3 separate regions of the Homo sapiens genome follow, and all the other regions are linked to region 2. Evidence: promoter capture Hi-C in human tissues and cell types (Jung and others, 2019). All regions are on one chromosome and are shown on one strand. Each heading gives the region's core, a stretch centred on a gene start or on the middle of the fragment in contact. The rest is flanking DNA. Distances are from core to core; before and after follow the strand shown.

What was found. The method cuts DNA at HindIII sites, captures the fragments that hold promoters and counts their contacts. A contact is called where the count stands out against the background at its distance.
Region 1: the fragment with the promoter of ZNF776 here is called in contact with the fragment with the promoter of ZNF446 in region 2 in 1 of the 25 tissues and cell types used here (spleen).
Region 3: a contact is called between the fragment with the promoter of ZNF552 here and the fragment with the promoter of ZNF446 in region 2, in 1 of the 25 tissues and cell types used here (spleen).

What each region holds. Positions count from the first base shown.
Region 1 is chr19:57,745,374-57,748,073 of GRCh38, forward strand. It overlaps ZNF776 (zinc finger protein 776), which reads left to right and starts at 1,442. Exons shown (of 3, transcript NM_173632.4): 1 at 1,442-1,718. The coding sequence starts at 1,686. RefSeq lists an enhancer at 1,454-1,503. The HindIII fragment of the contact is 15,716 bases long and covers 1-2,700 here.
Region 2 is chr19:58,475,098-58,477,797 of GRCh38, forward strand. ZNF446 (zinc finger protein 446) reads left to right here and starts at 1,255. Exons shown (of 7, transcript NM_017908.4): 1 at 1,255-1,407; 2 at 2,082-2,463; 3 at 2,540-2,700. The coding sequence starts at 2,122. ZNF324 (zinc finger protein 324) reads left to right here. Exons shown (of 4, transcript NM_014347.3): 4 at 1-339. RefSeq lists enhancers at 344-433, 494-553, 794-1,043, 865-1,159, 1,314-1,513. The HindIII fragment of the contact is 17,703 bases long and covers 1-2,700 here.
Region 3 is chr19:57,813,637-57,816,336 of GRCh38, forward strand. It overlaps ZNF552 (zinc finger protein 552), which reads right to left and starts at 1,277. Exons shown (of 3, transcript NM_024762.3): 1 at 1,075-1,277. The coding sequence starts at 1,107. RefSeq lists an enhancer at 1,552-1,601. The HindIII fragment of the contact is 37,727 bases long and covers 1-2,700 here.

The DNA.
Region 1 (2,700 bases), core at 192-2,691, 730 kb before region 2:
CTTCTCCCTGAACATAGAAGACATAGGTTTTTTAAGAACTGAGCGGCTGGGTACAGTGGCTCATGCCTTTAATCCCAGCACTTTGGGAGGCCGAGACAGGTGGATCACCTGAGGTTGAGAGTTCGAGACCAGCCTGACCAACATGGAGAAACCCCGTCTCTACTAAAAATACAAAATTAGCCAGGTATGGTGGCTCATGCCTGTAATCCCATCCATAACATTAATTTATTAGGCAAAACACTCCTTGCCATGGAAACAGAAATAAAGAATAGTCACAAAAAAAAAAAAAGAAAAGAAATAAATAAAGTCTGTTTTATCTAATACAAAAAAAAAAAAATAGCCACTTCCCAGCAATAACATGAACTCCTGGATTTAAGACACAACCAATATCAACAGGTGGAGAGCATCTTCTGCATACGTGCCCCACCTTTGAAAACTGCAGCCATTTATCACTACCAAAATAGCATTTCTTTCATTGGTCTTCCTGTAAGATTGATAAATCTTAGATAAATTAATCCAGAATTAATTGAATATAAGTTGGAATCTCAAGCGAGGGATACTAAGTGGATAAAAGTGTTGCTCAATGTACTGGACACTATGATTGATTTTATAGGCAGGAGAGTTGTCTTCTGTGGGAATCACAGACAGAGATTCAGCATGTATTCCTGCTTTAGGGAACACAACATTTCTCCTCTATCTTCCTTGTCTTGTCCTATCTGGATTAGTTCTCTCTTGTCCCTGACAGACTGAGAAACTGACTCTAATGCCTCAGAGTGCATTCATGTGAATTTATAACACAATAATGTTTATCAGCCTCTGCTGCCAGTACCGGGATTTTGCGACTGAAAGACTGTTCAAAACGTTATGATAATTTGGATTTTTAGTCTTTGGGGGCATCCTAAATAATAAGTTTAGCATCGGAGAGCTCGAGTTCCCCAAAATCTAAAATAATATTTTTTCAAATACTTGAGTGATCAGTTACAGACACTAATCTCCAAAAATCTCAATACGGGTTCTAAGGCTAGGTGAGACTATCCTCTACCCTAGAAGGACATGCACTTTAAGGACAGGCCGCTGAGATGGAGCTGGGCCTTTCCTGCAAGTAAGTGAACGTGATGGTAGGGTATACCTGACAGCATAGTTTGACAGGGGATATAGACTTTCAAGGAGAAAATAGACATGAAATAGATACATGCAGAAGTATAGTCAAATTGAGGGAAGATGACACTTAGGCCAGAGTAGTGTTTATTCACCACTCTGTGCAATCAAGCGCCTCTGAGAAGGCCTTCTTTACCGCCTTGGAACTGTCTTGGAACCTGAGGAAACTACATAACCCAGAAATCTCTGCGTCGAATGACAGCGCGTCAGAGCCAATGAGGGCTCAAAATAAAGGCGTTTCCGCGGAAACAGTATAAAGGTGGGACTTCCGGCGTCCTCTACTAGTGGCCATTTTGATTGGTGTTGGGTGTATTTTCCAGTGAGAGACCGCGGAGTGTTGGGTCGTGTAGAAGTGACTGAACCCAGAAGGTGGAGACGAGACGTTGTCCCGACTGCACAGAGGCTGCTCTGCAGCTCCTTAAAGGCGCTAGGCGTGACCCGCACCAAGGCCGGGATCGGGACCACCGTGCCCGGGTACCTGCACTGCTCGCCCCCTCCTTTCGACCCCGCTTTCCCCACCCAGTCGGATGGCGGCGGCCGCGCTGAGGCCCCCGGCTCAGGTAATTGTGGCGTCTTCCGTGCCCTCAGGTCACCTCATCTTTACCTAAGTCCAAAAGCAGAGAGGAAGCGGCGCCTGCTCAAGGTTTTACACCCTGAACCCGGCGTCGGGACACTGAGGCGCTCTCTATGGGCCCCCGTTTTTGACACCCGCGGGATGCGCTCAGGAGAGCTACAGGCACAGGGAGCGGTGCAGGCAAAGGCCTGGAGATGAACTGAGCCGAGAGGATCGTAACCTAGGGTCCACAGGCACCTGTCGGGAGCAAAGTGTGAGGCAGAGCTCCTCCTGGAAGAGCAGGCTGAGGACCGTGTATTCACCCTGAGAACGCTGGAAGCCATGGACAGCTTCCAACAAAGGAAGGAAAAGATCAATGTCCAGGCTTTAAAGGTTTCCCAAAGTCCAGTCGAAAAAGAACACAGGGGATGACTTTTGGGCCCTGGGAGGTTGAATTCTTGTTCAACCTCTACAGATCAGATAGGTGCTAAGAGATGACATTTTGTACTGAGGCGCTCAGTTCAGACAACCAACTCGCGTTTACCTAGTTACAGGGCCAAGAAAGAGTTCAGGGAGGCCTGAGCTTATCAAATCTCATCAGGGATACATTCTTGTAGCTTGTGCCTCTCCTCTCAGGAACTCCTGGCTGCAGAAGCACTTGCAGAACCTCCGCAGGGAAGCGGAGGGTGTTATTCCCTCACTGGCCCTAACTCCTATCCACATGCTCTTTAGATTGGGATGTCCTGGGATTCTTAGGTACCTTTTTTTTTTTTTTTTTAAGTTTTTTGATATGGGAACCCTGGAGGAACCTTAAACCCAGGATCCAAAGTCTGTGACACAGGATATATGGAGGTATTCCCATTTCTGTCAACCAGTATAAACATACTTGGAAGGTTAACCCAGGAGTTAGTACCAGGATGTGAAATGCTTAGAGGTGAAACTGACCAGAGGGAGGAGGTGATGTTGCCACAGTTTCATCTGGCTGTAGT
Region 2 (2,700 bases), core at 5-2,504:
GCACCTCATCCCCAAAAACAACCTGAGGAGGCCGTTGGAAAGCTCCGAGTTGACAAGTCTCATCCACGCACATGCTCGGTGCTTCCAATCGGTGATCAAGACCACTGCTCTTCATCCAGAGCAGGCAGCAGGGATTCCCAGGTATCCAAAGAAACCAAAACAGGCGGTGTAATTTAGGACTGACTAAGTAATGGCTCGGCCACTTTTAAGTGTGGAAGCAAAACTGACCCCACAGATTTAGAAAACTGTAACACTGCTTATTGGGAGAAACTAGTGTCACCCTGGCTAGTTCTGCTCCCCAAATTCAAAGGTAAATAAACGGTTGAGCATGTCCGATCAGCCTGGAGGGAAACCTCCACCCCCGACTTTGTAGGACTGACATCTGAAGACGTCAGAGACTGCGGTCACAACCGTCGGTACCTCCTTAGGGCGCTTAACAGAGGTCAAAGATGGCCCTCGCACCCTCCTGGCGGGAGAAAGCCCAGGCTCAGGGTGGTCTTCTACACCACCGCCTCTCCCGGGTCCACTTGGAAGCGAGTCCCAGCGAACTACTCGACCTAGGAAACCACTGGGCCGCCACTTCCAGCCTCTTCGGAAGTCGAGGCAACGCTCCTGAACGTTGCCACGGGAACAGCTGGAGGCGGGCGGATATGCCCTAGCGTTATCTAGGGGCTGGCCCGGGGAATGGCGTGGGGGCGGCGGGGCCAAGCAAGCGCCACCTCTGATTGGGCAAAACCCCCTCCCCTCACCTGCCAATAGAAACCGGCCCACTGTACAGACGCGCAAGTTTATAACCCGGGAAGAGCTGCTCTCAGAGCGGAGGGAGACCATATAACCCTGGGACTCTGCCGTACCTCCTAGAGGAACAGAGCGCCTCTCAGGCGTCAGAGGCTGCTGCAAATGCGGGTCAGCGGGTCACGGTCGCGCCTGTCTTGCTGATGCTCATGGGAAATGTAGTTCAAAGGGCATGGGCGGTGCCTTCGGTGCAGGCGAGAGATTGGTCAGCGCGGCGTCGCCGGGGCAACACCCGGCTGAGGCGCCCCGCGTTGTGCGGCGCCACATCCGGGAAGCGGCCTCCAAGCAACCGCTCCGGGTTGAGGTGAGCGCAGGCTGCCAGAGTGGGCGCAGCCTTTCCACCCCGTGGGAGGGCTTGGGGTCGCCCTCTGGGGCCTGAACGGCTCCTGCTGTCGGCGCCCTGGAGGGCCCGCCCACTTCCCGACAGGCCGCGCGCGTCACCTCAGCCTTCGCTCAGGCCTTTCCTACCCTCAACGCCGTTCCGGGGGGCCGGGCCTGGCAAGTCCTCTTGGAACGCCTCCCTCTTGCCTTCCCCTTTTGGGGACAGATCCCGAAGTTCGAGCATCCCTCGGATAGGCCGGGTGTCAGGCCTGGTCTCTCAGGCCCGTCCAGGTGGGCGTCTTTCACTGCAGACCTTCAGGGCCGGGATGCTGTGGCCATCCCTCGACTCCGCGCAACGTGGAGCTTTGGCCCCGTTTTTCTTGGCCTTTGCTTTTCGTTTTCACATGCACGGGCCCCGGCAGTGTGAGTCGCCCACGGCTCGCTGTGGTCAGCGAGCACGATGTCCACGTGCCCCCTCCCCAGAGCCATTCCTAAAGGAGGTCCCACCCAGTCAACCTCCCCGAGATTGTGGAGGGCGACTCGTCCCCGTACATTACAGCCTGGCCCCACCTTCTACCCGCCCACCCTGGTCCACTCTCCTCGCACCTCGGCTAGACACTGTGGCTCCTCAGCCTGGCGCTGGAACTCTGTGATGACTGTCTTTCTCCACCTCTTTAGCGTCATCTCCCAGCAGTCCCCTGCTGGACCCAACTGTTTGCAATTTCCAGGAAGCTCCCTGGACACCTTGCGTCCAAGCATTTGTCCCTGAGGCTTCCTCCTGCTCTCATTTGCCATCATTGTTTGGGTCCTGTGACCCTCCTCCTTCCATGAAGCTTTCTTGGCCTTATCTCTTCTGGCCTCAGAGTACACTTGGTCCTGGTCTCAGCCCCCTGGGCTGAGCCTGGTGTCTGCCTTCCCCTGGCCAGATTCTCTTGGCTGACATTCCGACCCTTCCTTTTCTGTAGGCCCATCTTGACGATTCCAAGACCACCCCCTTGAGCAAGAATGCCATCCCCTCTGGGTCCCCCATGCCTGCCCGTCATGGACCCAGAGACCACCCTTGAGGAGCCTGAGACTGCCCGCCTCCGCTTCCGAGGGTTCTGCTACCAGGAGGTGGCAGGTCCCCGAGAAGCCCTGGCCCGGCTGCGTGAGCTGTGTTGCCAGTGGCTGCAGCCTGAGGCACACTCCAAGGAGCAGATGCTGGAGATGCTGGTGCTGGAGCAGTTCCTGGGCACACTGCCTCCCGAGATCCAGGCCTGGGTGCGCGGTCAGCGGCCAGGCAGTCCTGAGGAGGCCGCTGCCCTAGTCGAAGGACTGCAGCATGACCCTGGGCAACTGTTGGGCTGGGTGAGTGTGGCTGGCATCAGCTTCTTGGAGGGATAGACCCTGGCTAGAGCCATTGTGACCTACCTCTTCTCCTCAGATCACAGCCCATGTCCTGAAGCAGGAGGTGCTCCCTGCAGCCCAGAAGACAGAGGAACCACTTGGGAGCCCCCACCCCTCAGGGACAGTGGAGTCCCCTGGGGAAGGTCCCCAGGACACCAGAATAGAGGGGTCTGTCCAGCTCAGCTGCAGTGTGAAGGA
Region 3 (2,700 bases), core at 27-2,526, 660 kb before region 2:
TCCTGACAGGCACTTCCCCTAGTATGGCCGAGGTCATGGAAAGCCCAATGTGGCACCTTCAGCACAGCAGAGATACCCTCTCTGAACGCACCTCATTCTTTTTTTTTTTTTTTTTTTTTTTTTTTTGATACGGAGTCTCGCTCTGTCACCCAGGGTGGAGTGCAATGGCGCGATCTCGGCTCACGCAACCTCCGCCTCCCGGGTTCAAGCGAGTCTGCTGCCTCAGTTTCCCAAGTAGCTGGGATTACAGGCATGCGCCACCACGCCTGGCTAATTTTGTATTTTTAGTAGAGACAGGGTTTCTCCATGGTTGGTCAGGCTGGTCTCTACCTCCGGACCAACCCGCCTAGGCCTCCCAAAGTGCTGGGATTACAGGAGTGAGCCACTGCACCCGGCCCCACCCTCCACTTTCTTGTATGCGTTCCTTAAATGCTTCTACAGCCATAAAGGCCTGAGGGAAGAGGCTGACTTTACAGGACTGTGTCCCTGATAGGATCTGGTAAGCTCAGGCCTCCCTGAACGCTTTTGTGTCCACGGAGCCAGGTGACCTTGGACTATTGTCTAACCTGCGTGTCTCAGCACAAAGTGTCATCTCTACCACCTATATGATCTACAAGGATTCAATCTCAAAGGGCCCCAACGTCATCCCCTCTCTACTCTGTTATTTATTTGGCCTTTAGGAAACTTTAAAAGCCTGGACTTTGATCCAGTCCCTTCTTTCTTGGAAATTCTCCTATTTCTAGTGTCCTCGCAATGATTTCACAGCCCCCAGCCTCCTTGCTTTTCCAGGAGGAGTTCCGCCTCACAGGTTGTTCCCTACAGGCGCCTGTGGACCCCAGGTTCCATCCTCCCGGATCCGTCCATCTCCAGGCCATTGCCCGCGCCCCTCCCTGTACCTGTCGCTCTCCCCACCGCATCCCACGGGTGTCTGAAACAGGGATCCCTCCCGAGAGCGCCTCAGTGTCCCGACGCCGGGTCCGGGTTGCAGAGCCGTAAACAGGTGCCGCTCCCTCGCTGCTTTAGGACTTGTGTGACTAGGAGGTGACCGGAGAGCACGGAAGGCGCCACAATTACCTGAACGGGGAACCTTAGCGCGGCCGCCGCCATGGGACCACGTGGGGTAAGCTGGGTTGAGAGCAGCGGGCGCCGTTAAAGAGCTGCAGAGTCACGTCTGTGCAAAGAGAAGAACGACTCTCGACCTCCTGGATCCAGTCACCACCACGGTCCCAACACAGCGCTCCAAGGACTCCCTAACGCCAATGGAAATGGTCGCTACTAAAGGGCGCCGGGAGTCCCGCCTCTACCTTACTTGCGCACACGGAAACGCCTTCAATGTGAACTCTCACTGGCTCTGCCGTGCTGTCATTTGACGCAGAGCTTTCTGGGTAATGTAGTTTCCCAGGTTCCAAGGCCGTAAAGAGAGAGATTCCCAGGGGCGCTTCGGAAGGAAAAGCCCAGCTCCACCTCCGGGGCCCTCAGGGAAGCCTCCTGACCCGCACGGTGGCGCGCGCCTGTAATCCCAAATTTTGAGAGGCTGAGGTGTCAGGACTGCTTGAGCCCAGGTGGTCCAGGCTGCACTGAGCTATGACTGCACCACTGCACTCCAGCCTGGGCGACAGAACCTGTCTCAAAAGAAAAAGAAATGTTAATTAAGCGTTTGTGCTGTTAAGGGAGGAGACCACCTCTCATATTGTTTTATGCCCAATTTCTGCCTCCAAAGAAACAAGTAAAAACTAAAAGGCAGAAATGAAATCCACAGGCAGACAGCCAGGTGCCAACCCTGGGCCTGGTTAAAGATCGACCCCTGACCAAACCGGTTATGTTATCTATGGATTCCAGACATTGTATGGAAAAGCATTGTGAAAATCCCTGTCCTGTTCTGTTCCGTTCTGATTACCACTGCATGCAGCCCCCAGTCGTGTACCCCCTGCTTGCTCAATCGATCACAAACCTCTCATGTGGACCCCCTTAGAGTTGTAAGCCCTTAAAAGGGACAGGAATTCCTCACTTGGGGAGCTTGGTAGTTGGAGATGTGAGTCTTGCCAAAGCTCCAGGCTGAATACAGCCCTGCGGCTTGTCCTGCTACATTTCTTGGTTCCCTGACTGGGAAGCCAGGTGATTAACAGATAGTCGAGGCAGCCCCTTAGGCAGCTTAGGCCTGCCCTGTGGAGCATCCCTACAGGGGACTCTGGCCAGCTTGAGGGACGCAGAACCTGAGAGCACTCCCGGGTAGGCAATTGCCCCAGTGGAACACCTCGCCAGAGTGGCGTGTGGCAGGCCCCCACAGAGGATCAATGCAGCGGCTGAACACTGGGAAGGAACAGGCACTTGGAGTCCGGACATCTGAAACTTGGTAAGACTAGTCTTTGGAACTTGCCCACTCCATTTGAGTGGAAGGGTGGCCTGATCACCCACGGCATGCCTGTACCGGCACTTTGGTTTTTGTTTTTGACTTGATTTGGATTGCTTGATACTTTCGTTTTGGTTTTGACCTGGCTTGGATTTCTGGATACTCTGATTTGGATTTTGATTCTGGTTTGGTGTAAACGGTAAAAGTGTATGTGTGCCCTTTTTACCTGTTCTTTGTTTTGTGGTGTGCGTGTGGTGTGAGCGTGGTGTTTTGTCTCAAAGAAGCATGGGTCAGGCACAAAGTAAGCCCACTTCACTAGGAACTATGTTGAAACATTTCAAGAAAGGATT